Regions from separate parts of the Homo sapiens genome. Here all the other regions are linked to region 3. The links are contacts of gene promoters, found by promoter capture Hi-C in blood cells and fetal thymus (Javierre and others, 2016). All regions are on one chromosome and are shown on one strand. The core of a region is centred on a gene start or on the middle of the fragment in contact, and the rest is flanking DNA. Distances in the headings are between cores, read along the strand shown.

What was found. The method cuts DNA at HindIII sites, captures the fragments that hold promoters and counts their contacts. A CHiCAGO score of 5 or more calls a contact.
Region 1: a fragment that was not itself captured here is called in contact with the fragment with the promoter of OBSCN-AS1 in region 3 in 1 of 17 cell types (fetal thymus); the score reaches 6.9 in fetal thymus.
Region 2: a fragment that was not itself captured here is called in contact with the fragment with the promoter of OBSCN-AS1 in region 3 in 2 of 17 cell types (total B cells and fetal thymus); the score reaches 5.4 in total B cells.
Region 4: a contact is called between a fragment that was not itself captured here and the fragment with the promoter of OBSCN-AS1 in region 3, in 1 of 17 cell types (fetal thymus). The highest score is 7.3, in fetal thymus.

The regions. Positions count from the first base shown.
Region 1 is chr1:228,278,758-228,281,457 of GRCh38, reverse strand. It overlaps OBSCN (obscurin, cytoskeletal calmodulin and titin-interacting RhoGEF), which reads right to left. Exons shown (of 116, transcript NM_001386125.1): 31 at 2,503-2,700; 32 at 2,014-2,283; 33 at 1,371-1,637; 34 at 1,013-1,279; 35 at 662-928. Among named protein-coding and RNA genes, the nearest start is that of OBSCN-AS1, 66 kb to the right of the region's middle. The HindIII fragment of the contact is 9,114 bases long and covers 1-2,700 here.
Region 2 is chr1:228,125,233-228,127,932 of GRCh38, reverse strand. No RefSeq gene overlaps it. Among named protein-coding and RNA genes, the nearest start is that of GUK1, 14 kb to the left of the region's middle. The HindIII fragment of the contact is 1,185 bases long and covers 768-1,952 here.
Region 3 is chr1:228,212,242-228,214,941 of GRCh38, reverse strand. It overlaps OBSCN-AS1 (OBSCN antisense RNA 1), which reads left to right and starts at 1,287. Exons shown (of 2, transcript NR_073155.1): 1 at 1,287-1,520. OBSCN (obscurin, cytoskeletal calmodulin and titin-interacting RhoGEF) reads right to left here. Exons shown (of 116, transcript NM_001386125.1): 2 at 2,171-2,700; 3 at 1,232-1,501; 4 at 508-768; 5 at 1-152. RefSeq lists a silencer at 1,151-1,200. The HindIII fragment of the contact is 3,550 bases long and covers 12-2,700 here.
Region 4 is chr1:228,087,131-228,089,830 of GRCh38, reverse strand. The region is part of intron 1 of ARF1 (ARF GTPase 1); the gene reads right to left. Among named protein-coding and RNA genes, the nearest start is that of ARF1, 5.8 kb to the right of the region's middle. The HindIII fragment of the contact is 7,232 bases long and covers 1-2,700 here.

The sequences.
Region 1 (2,700 bases), core at 119-2,618, 66 kb before region 3:
GTCAAGGACCAGCAAACAGGCTGGTTACACCACCTGTCACCCACACCAGGATGCCACTGGGACCGGGCACACACACAGAGGGGGCCAGGTAGCCACCCTGCAGTTGAGGGAACTTCCCCTGAAAAGCAGGACAGGTTCCAGGGCACGCACGCCCCCAAGGCTGCAGGGCTGGGTTCAGGGATGGCTCTACCCTGCCAGCCCAGTGGCCTTAGGGCCTTGCTGGGGCCCCGTGAAGGACAGAGACGTGGCCTACTCACAGCCCCTGCCTGGCATCTCGGCTTCTCCCTGGCTATCCCCACTGGTGTCCCCACAGTGGCCTGATGACTTCCATGCAGACACGTCCCCTGGTACAGGGCAACATCCCCAGGCTATGTCGTCGGGACCAGCGGGCAGGGACAGCACAGCCTCCAACCCTGGCTCCGGGGACAATTTCTGGCTCCGGGACCCACTGTCCCCGGGTCCACCTGCTTGCACCCAGGCCTCACAGGACCACATCAAGCCATGGCTCCCCCAGAAGGCTCCCCTGACCTCCCCGGCTCAGCAGAGCAGCCCTTCAATCTCAGAGAATGATGTGGGCCACCCAGGTAGTGGCTGGCCCCACATCCATGCCCACCCAGCACGCCTCCCTTCCCTGAGCTCTGCCGTGCCTGCAGCCACACACCGTGCACGCGGACCCGGGCCCGGGTCTCCTCGGAGCCCACGTGGCAGGTGTACAGGCCGGCGTCTTCAGGGCTCACGTCATGCACCACGAGCCCCCGCGTGCCCGCCGTGTGCAGGAAGTCATACTTGTCACTGGGGCCCAGCTGCACGCCATCTTTGCGCCACACCACATGGGCCTCGGGGTCAGAGACTTCACACTGCAGGGCCAGGGTGCCGCGCTCCTCTGCGGACAGGTCATCCAGCGCCTTCAGGAACACCACCGGCTTCACTGCAGGAGGGATAGGAGGGTGAGGGAGGCCAGCGCCTGTCCCATTCCTAGTGGGGAGTCCCGAAGACTCGTGGGATGACTCACCTCGGACCTCCAGGCGGGCAGAGGTCGACACCTTCAGGGAGGAGGCGCGTACTATGCCCGCATCAGCCCGCTGGATGCTCTTCAGTACCAGCGTGTGGCGCCGGCCCTTGTGTGAGATCTCATGGAAGCTGTCGTTGTACAGGGGCATCCCGTTGAGCGACCACTCGACCTCCTCATCCTCGTGGGACAGCTCACAGGAGAAGCTGGCCCAGCCCTCCTCCGTGGCCTCTGCATCCTGTAGCGGCCCTGTCACTGTCACCTCCCGCGCTGCAAGAGACACACCGGGCCTCAGTGTCCACATCACCAGGCAACCCCTCCCCAAAACCCTCTCAGTAGCCCCATGCCCCTCATGCCCCACCTTCCACAGTGACCTCAGTGCTGCTGTGGGCACTGCCCGCCTGGCACCGGTAGACACCAGCATCAGCAGGCATGAGCCGGAGGATGCGCAGCTCAGCCATCTGACCCTCCAGGCTCATCTTAAACTTCTCAGAGGGAGACAGGGGCGTGTCATCCTTGTACCACTGCACAGCCTTGGGGGCTGGCCGGAAGTCGCAGGACAGGACCACTGACTGCAGCTCACGCCCTGTCTTGGGCTCCAACGGCCGTGTGAGGACTACGGGGATGTCTGCAGGGAGTGGGGAGAGGCTGGGCCACGGCACCACAGGAACCAATCACCCTGCCCTGCCTGCCAAGCCCTGAGCCTGCTCACCTATGGCCTTGAACTGTGTCCGCCCCTGGCCCTGAGCTGTGTCCACCATTCCCTGAACTATGTCTTCCCCTGGCCCTGAGCTGTGTCCTCTGCAGTCCTGAACTGTGTCCTCCCCTGGCCCTAATTGATATCCATCTGTGGCCCTGAACTGTGTTGTCACTGCCCTGAGCCTTCTCCTCCCATGGCCCTGCCCTGTACCCACCCACAGCCCTGTCCAGGCCTCCCAACAGCCCTGAACCTTGTCCTCTTGTGGCTCTGCCCCACGTCCACCCACCGGGGCGGGAGTGCTCACCTGAGACCACCAGGCGGGCAGAGGAGCGCGACTTGCCAACGGTGAAGTGCACGGGCCCGGTCATGGTGGAGCAGGTCCGCCGCAGCATCAGCCGGTGCACCGTGCCCTCCTGCTCCAGGCCCACGTTCCCCCCAGCCTGCAACACCGTCTTCCCCAGGAGCCACTTAGGTGGCCGCACTGAGGGGATGGAGGTCTCACACTCAAACCAGGCAGGAGCGGGCTCCATCACTGTCACGTCCTGCAGACCCCGCACAATGGTGATGGATTGCTCTGTTGGGGAGGAGCAGTCGCTGGCGGATCCCGCGGATAGGACATGCTGCCCCTCCGGCAGGGTTCCTTCCTGGGAACAAGCCCCCGCCCTGCTAGATGCATGCTAGCATCCTCCTGAGCTGCCCAGACCCAGCGTCTCCAGGAGTGTAGGGCAAACCATGGACCTGGGAGACTCCCCCCAACAAAAGCAACCTGCAGAGCTGCCCTCCCTGCCTGCACCTTCCACGAAGAACTGTGCACTGGTCTTGACATCACCGGCGTCACAGGTGTAGGTGTCCTCGTCCTCTGCGTGGACATCACTGATGATCAGCTTGCGGTAGAGGCCATCACTGACCAGCTCGTACTTGGGCCCGGGCTGCAGCTCCTGACTGCCCTTGAACCACCGCACCTGGGCGCTGGCCCGGGACACCTGACACT
Region 2 (2,700 bases), core at 111-2,610, 87 kb after region 3:
TTGAGGTTAGTGGAGTTGAGCCCTGGAAATGTGGCTCCAGTAACTATAAGGACAGTTAGGACCTCATTCTTGATCTTAAGAGTTATTTCCCTAACATGGTTGTGGGGAAGGATGAGAAGAATCCCTACAATTCGCTGGAGTCCCATTACTGGGAGTTGATATGGTTTTAATGTCCTGCCCCAATTTCATGTTGAATTGTAATCCCCAGGCTGGGGGCAGTGTCTCATACCTGTAAACCCAAGACTCTGGAAGGCTGAGGCAGGTTGATTGCCTGGACTCAGGAGTTCGAGACCAGCCTGGGCAACAAGGCAAAACCCTGTCTCTACCAAAAATACAAAAAAATTAGCCAGGCATGGTGATGCGCGCCTATGGTCCCAGCTACTCAGGAGGCTGAGGTGGAAAGATTGCTTGAGCATGGGAGGCAGAGGTTGCAGTGAGCTGAGATTTTGCCACCGCATTCCAAACTGAGTAACAGAGTGAGGCCCTATCTAGAAAGAAAGAAAGAAAGAAAGAAAGAAAGAAAGAAAGAAAGGAAGGAAGGAAGGAAAGAATTGCAATCTCTATGTAGTATTGGAGGTGGGGCCTGGTGGGAGGTAATTGGATCACAGGGGTGGATTGCTCATGAATGGTTTAGCACCATCCTCTTGGTGCAGGTGCAGTCCTCATGATAGCGAGTGAGTTCTCGAGAGATCTGGTTGTTTAAAAGTGTGTGGCACCTCCCCCATTCTCTCTTGCTCCTGCTTCACCTTTTGCCATGATTGGAAGCTTCCTGAGTCCTCTCCAGAAGCAGATGCTGCATGTTTCTTGCACAGCCTGCAGAACTGTGAGCCAATTAATTCTTTTTTTTCTTACAAATTACCCAGTCTTGGGTATTTATAGCAATTCAAGAATGGCTTAATAAAGGAATATACACCTTGAGGGTTTTGAGGGAGGGGTCATTTAACTCTCTTTAACTTATAGCAACCTCTCTTCCAGTGTCCAGTTTTTTATAATAATGGTAGGGGCCAGGAGGATTTTGTTTGGGGGCTTCTGTTTGTTGCAGCTGGTGGTTGAGGATTTTGATAATTTTCTTTTTATTGGTATCCTCATGGGGCTGATTGGCCAACCTTACTAAATGTGGAGTGGACATGCCTCCGCATTCCATGTGGATTATTTTAACAAGCTGGGAAAGCTCTCAAGTTAGGCCATTCACAAACATAGAATTAAAGGCTACTTGGGTAGAATAAACATTTACAGAAGTCTAGAATTGTCCTTAAAGATGATGCGGAGTCAACTGTAACACTGTAATAATTCTGAACTTGTTCATTTGGTTTTGGGTACAAGTTGAATCTTGTTCCAGTCTATGGCTTTAAGGAAAACTTAAGAATAGCTCTGTGGGTCTTTAGATTGTGAGCTTGTTCCCAGTATTGGGGCGTTTGTCTAGTTCAGGTGGGGTCCAGTTAGCTTTAGCCATCCAATGTTGGGCTTGGCCTTCATCAACAAGTGTATGAAGCAGCTGTTATAGACTGGGAAAGCCAGACTGATAGGCCTGGATTACCATGTTGAATTCATCAGCAAATGAGTTACAGTCTTCAGTAACTTTTAGGAATTCCTTGGCAATGGCTCCGAGTTCAGCCTTAGTCCAAGCCTTGGTCAAAGGAACATAGGAGACTTGGGATTTAGCTGGGTCATCAGTGCTCATAGGAAGGGCTGTAGGAAGTCGGGGAGGAGGTTCCAGGGAGGAGAGAGTCTGGTCCTCTAAGGTTTTTTTTTTTTTTTTTTTTTTTTTTTTTTTTTTTGCCTCTTTTAATTGTTTACTTGTCTCAACTGGCTTTGAGACAGTGTTTTGTATAGAGGTAATTTTTGAGTCCTGAATGTGATTTGAAGCCTCAAGATGCCAATTGTAATATGTCTCCCATTAAGACTGACCCTATAGCCATGGTCTCCTAATTTAGTTCTCAGAAAAGTAAGCTTCAGAAGTTTGATCTGCAAATGGCCATTGGAGCTCCAAATTATCCTTAGTGTAATTTGCCCATTGGTTTAAAAGGGTGCACAAGGGTGATCCTGAATGTCTGGACATGGAGCTGGCTGGGGTCCTGAAGGAGGGTTGCCCTGCATGCTTTAGAATTTGGGAATCCCATTCTCTTTCTTAATCTCTCAAAAGCAAAAAGAAAATCCTATTGGTCCTTTGAGGAAACTAACTCTTGAACAAAGTGTTCTGCTTTCACAAGTATGCCTTTCACAGGATACTTGTTTTGCTTGGTGGATGGCCTTTGCCCTAAGTTGTCTGACCTGTGACCACGGAGCCCTTGTTACACAGAAATTTTCTTGAAACTGGTATGCCCCCAGTGGTAATATTGCCTGTATCTGACCAGTTTGTCCTTTCAAAGGAGTCTTTGACTTTGGAGACTCGAATCTGTTATAAAATGGTGGTGAGAACCCCAGTGGCTCTTAAGTGTTCAACCGTGTACAACAATGTTGTGTTATTTTGCTCTCAAACGATGTTTAGAAACAATGAAAACAAGAGGAAAAGGTCTAATTTGCATGCAAGCAGCCAAAAATGAAACCAAAAGAATACTCACCATGTGCAGGCTAAAGCACCTCCATCTTGGATGCTAGTCTTCCATGCTCACTTCTGATTAACCCCAGTTCTAGGACGTGTAGGAGTGTGGACTCACCGCACATCCTGCTATATGTCAAAACAATCTCTTCACATTATCA
Region 3 (2,700 bases), core at 38-2,537:
GGTGCCAAGCTTCTTCTTCTCTACCAGGTAGCCGTCGATAGTGACAGGGCGTTCCCCATGGGGTGGTGGGGACCAGCTGAGAATCACGGAACTCTCCATCCTGGCCTTTACCACAGGATCCACAGGGGGTTGCAGGGGAGGCTTCCTGGGGGCTGTGTAGAGGGTGGGCAGAGGTCAACTACTGGGAGCCTCTTCCTGAGCCCTGGGTCTGGAATCACCTGGAGGGGTGTCACAGGATCCCCAGCTCTCTTGGGGCTGCTCTGGGGACCTGGACCACTGGCCACAACCTCCAGCCCCAGACCTGCAGCCACTTCTCTGGTTGCAGCTGAAAGACTGCGCGGGGGCTCAGGGAGCCTAACGTTGGAGGGCCAGGGCTATGGTCTTGCCCGGCGGCCCTCGGTACAGCAGGCTGAAGCCCAGAGAGCTGAGGTAATGGAGGGCAGGGGACTGGGACCAGGGAGACAGCAGGGAAGCGATGCCATCCTGGGAGCACCCTCAGGCCCTCACCCGACACGCAGAACTGGGTGGACGTCTGGCAGTCGCCAGCCATAAAGGCCACCTGGCCCACATCCTCCAGGCAGCACTGGGAGATGGTTAGTGTGTGGCGCGTGCCCTCCGCGGAGATGGCCACGCGGCCCCCCGCCACCACTTCCTCCTGGTTCCGCAGCCAGTGGACGGGGCCCACCGGGACCGCCAGCTCCACGCAAAACATAGCCGTGTCGCCCACGCGCACCGCCGTCTTCCGAGGGAGCTTTCGGAGGAGGTTTCCTGGGGTGGAGGGAGCCGGGCCAGTCAGACCAGCCCCTGCACGCCCCGCTCCAGACTCGCTCCTCCGCTTGCCCCCTGTCTCCCGGTTCCCAACTGCCTCCGATTCACTCCCCCGCGCAACCCCTTACCTGTCCCGCCGGCCCAAGTCCCAGCTCGGTCCCACAAGACCCCTGCCCACTCCGTCTCCCCTTCCCCCTAATCACCACCCCGTGCCCGGCCCGAGCTTGCTCCTCCGCCCCCACCTTACCTGCCCTTCCCGCCCCAGTCCCGCCCCTGCCTGCCCCAGTCCCAACTCGTACCTCGCAAGCCCAGTCCGTCTGCACCCTGCCCGCCCCCGTGCCCGCCCAGCCCGTGCGGCCTGGCTCCCCCCTCCCCCGCCCCCGGCTCCCTTCTCGGTGCCTCCTTGCCCCCGCTACCTCCCCGAAGCCGCCCTGTGCCCCGCCCCGTGCCCCGCCCCGCCTGCCTTGGACTGCGAGCTCCGCCACCGTGCGGCTGCCCTCTGGCGTCTCGCAGATGTACACCGCGTCGTCGTCGGCCGAGACATTGCGCACGGTCAGGCGGCGCTCGGTGCCCTCCTCCTCGATGCCGTACTTGGCGCTCGCCCACAACCGCGTCTCCTCCTTGAACCACGCGGCCTCAGTGGACGGCTGGGGCACCTCACATAGGAACGTGGCCGACTCCTTCTCCCGCACCTCCAGATCTTGCAGCCGCTTTTTGAAGGGAACCGCGGGCTCTGCCAGGAGAGAAGACTGGTGAGAGGGGCGGGGCCGGAGGGTGCAGGACGACGGCGGGGTGGGAAGGGGGAAATTGGGGGATTGTGGGCGGGAAAGGAGACTGGAGGATGCAGAGGTGAGGGTGTGGGAAGGAATAGGGGACAGGAGCAGAGGGGCTGGGAGGCTGGAAAGGAGAGGGTGCAGGGTAGAGGAGTGGGCTGGGGAGAGGAGCGAGCAGGAGGCAGAGGGGCTAAGGGTTGGGAAGGGCGCAGGGGAGGAGACAGGAAGTTGGGGGGCGGGGGAGTAGAAGAGCAGAAGGCAGAGTGGTGGAGGTTGGGTTGGGAGCAGCGGGAGGGAGAGGGCGGGGCTGAGGAGGTGGGATCCCCTGCGGCCCCGCCCCTCTCACACCTCTCGCCCCTGTCTGTGGGCCAGCGGTGGCGGGTTGGGGGCGCGGCATGCAAAGGGGGCGGGGCGGGCAGGGGACTGGGTGGGGAAAGCGGGTTGCGGGTGTTTAGAATAGGTCGTGGGGCGTCGCCCGCATTTTGCGCACCAGGAACGGACACCTGCAACCCTGGATTCCACGACCGGACAGACGCGGGTGGGAAACGGCAGACCGCAAGGGCGAAAGGACCCAGGTGCACGGGTTGCGGAGGAGCCTGGGCCCGCGCGCCCCGCACCCAGGAGCTCACCGCGCACTACGACCAGCACAGAGCTGTAGGTCTGGCCCACGAGGTTGGACGCCGTGCAGGTGTAGAGGCCGCGGTCCGACTGCTTGCAGAAGAGGATCTTGAGCACGAAGTTCTCCTGCGCGTCCTCGTACACCACGTGGCGCCGGCCCTCGGTCACCAGCTGGCCGTCCTTCTTCCACACCGTCTCGGGCTTGGGCTCGCCGGTCACGTAGCAGCTGAGGCGCGCGTGCTTGCCTTCAGTCACCGTGCAGGTGCGCGTGCCGGTGCTGGGCGGTGAGGCGGGGGCGCCCTCGGCGCGCATAGCCTCGCGCCGCCGCTGCAGGTGCGCCAGGAGCGCGGCCGTGGAGGTCCCGGGCCGGCTGGCCGTGTCCGCGGCGTCCGAGTCCACCACTAGCGCCGCGGCGGCGCTGGCAGCGCCCAGCGGGTTCTCGGCGCGGACCTCGTAAGTGCCGCCGTCGCGCGGCCGCGCCGCCCGAATGCGCAGCGCACTTGCCTCGCCGAGCTCCTCCACGCGCACGCGGGGGCCGTCG
Region 4 (2,700 bases), core at 53-2,552, 130 kb after region 3:
GACGAACATAGGCCCACCATTGTGTGGGGCTGGGGGATCCAGGGCCCTGAAGGCCCCTTTCTACACCACTTGAAAAAAAAAAGGGGAACTGGAACAGCACACTGCTGGTGTTGCTGTCATAAACTGGGAGAGCAAGTTGCTCCTTCCTCCAACCACTAGAAGGGGGTGGGGCCCTTGTAGCTTCTCCGCACCAGGTTAAAGAAAATTAATGCAATGGCTGCACCAGTGATTGAGCCAATGCCTAAAACTTGATTTCTGCCTTCAAGAAACGTTCATTTTAAAAATGTAGGCTGAGGGGAAACACCACACAAAGACTTGCTCTTCCAGAGAAATCAAAAGCGAAGTGCAACAATGGGAGTGGGAACCATCACCAGGTTTCCCCCAGCTTTGGGACGAGCACCACCTTGCCACCCCACCCCACTCTGGTCAGTCAGACATGTAAAGAGACGGGGATGCCCCCCCACAGACCCTGGGAGGCCACCGCCCTTGCAGGAAATCCTCGCTTCTGGAGGCACTCCAGACCTAGGTGAGAGAAAGGCACACCCCGGGGACACTCTGGGGACCTCCCTTCAAGTGACCTAGTTCTCACACACACGCTGGCATCTGCCCTGCTCTCCAGGTGATGGTGGCCCCTACACAACGACCCCACATTTCTCTTCAAGACTTTAGACCCTCCTCCCAATTCCTGCCCCTTGACAGCCAGCTTTGCAGCCGAAACCCCCCTCCCAAACCCAACAGGCATTCTCCGCTGTGATGCGAGTAGCCTCCCTCCTGTTCCCCAGGCAAGAACCCCGTCTCCAGCCTCCTCCTGCGTGTTCTCAGCACACCAGTCAGCCAGGTGACCCGATGTTCTACTCAGAGCTGCCCCACGGCTGCCGCCCGATCAGGTCCTTGCAATAGGCTGCCTTGGTCCACAACATAATGCCCACACTGTGCTCTAAATGCTGCCTCTGGCAACCCAAAAGGAAGTAGAGACAGCATCCCAGCACTCGCACAAGACGGCAGAGAACCACTGCTCTGTCCCAACTATGATGCAATGGGGAGTAAAGGAAAGTGACTTCACAACCACGCTAGAGGACCAAGGGTGGCGGCCAGAGAACCACCCTTACCAGGCTGCTCATGCACTGACACCACCAACCTCAAGGGCAAGCCATGTCCATGAAGCAACTACTGTAGCTTTTCCTTCTGGAAACTGAATTCTTGCTGTGATTCTGAAGAGAACAATACACAGTCATCTTTGATTTATAAGGTGATTTTGTTCCTGGAACTTCAGAACACCTGTTAAAACTATGCACAAAAATTTTTTTTTCATATTTATAACAGGTCTGGGACATCAGACGACCTCCCCTACATGAAGGTCAGACAGGAAGTGTTCTTGCCACTGCCAAAGGTGCCAGTGCTGCCACCCAAAAATGCCACCACAGATTACCAAATTCCTTTTTCTGGGAACCGCGGACCCCCTCCGAGGGCCACTGCACACCCCAGCAGGCTTCCCACCCAGTATGCACCCTACTCCTGACAGGTCTCCAAACTCTGCCAGCCAGCGCACTCACCTCAGGGATTCTGCCCTGATTGTCCCGGGCCACTCCTTCACATCTCTGCTCACATGGCACCTGTCAAATGACACTCAGCCCCTTCCGGATGGTCCTGGTATCTCCCTGCCTTCCCTCCACCAGTGTGGGCAGCTCTGTGTGGCACTCACCGTCACAGCCACTGCCCCCGTGGAGCCTCATGCTCATCAAGCAGGGCTTCCTTTGCCCAGAACAGGCCTTCCTCCCCAGCCTCCCACCCTCTTCCGCTGGGCACTGCACAAGTGACTCACCACCAAGGAGAGGAGAAAACAATGGCAAAAGAATGTTTATCAGGCCCATAGGGCTCATGAAGATCAACTGTACACATCTGCAGATGTGCTTTCCCTAAAAATTAAGTTCGTCACGAAAAACCTATCGCATCAACAAGGAATTGCATGCTTTTTAAAAACTGTACTCATGTGTGGGTCAGTCTGAACATTCTTTTGACCATAAAAATGTGGGAAAATGGGGTTGTAGATGCTGTTAACTACTGAAGGCAAAAGTGTGGCAGCTCAGTGATGTCAGACACAAGAGGGAGGGAAGGATGTGTGTTCAAAATCTGTTTTCTAAACCTGCCCCCAGGTCCTCAGCTGATGAGTAGGTATAAATTTTTTTAAGAGCTAAGGGTCCTGCTCTGTTACTCAAGCTGGAGTGCAGTGGTTATGATCACAGCTCACTGCAACCTTGACCTCCTAGGTTCAAGTGATCCACTCTCCTGCCTCAGCCTCCCAAGTAGATTGCACTACACAGGTGTGAGCCACAGTGCCTGGCTAGTACAAATATTTTAAGGAAAATGTCACCACCAAAATTGCCAGAAGATGTATTCATAGTATTTTAAATATAAATCAATAAATTTGATTGGTGAGTGAGCAACTGCATTCCCATCTACAGAAGGTACAAAGCACAGGCACATCTAACTGCCTCCGTTCCCAATCCCCAGGATGAGTATAGATGATAGCTTCTTGGCCATTTGTACCTAAATCAAACCTATAAAATACTTAAAAGTTTCCCGCATAGCGTATATGGTACTGCAAAAATAACTTGCTGTATGACACAAATGGAAAGATGTCTCATGTCTAGCCATGCTACCACTGGAAGCCCTTTGGAAATGAATCTTTCTAGCTTGCTG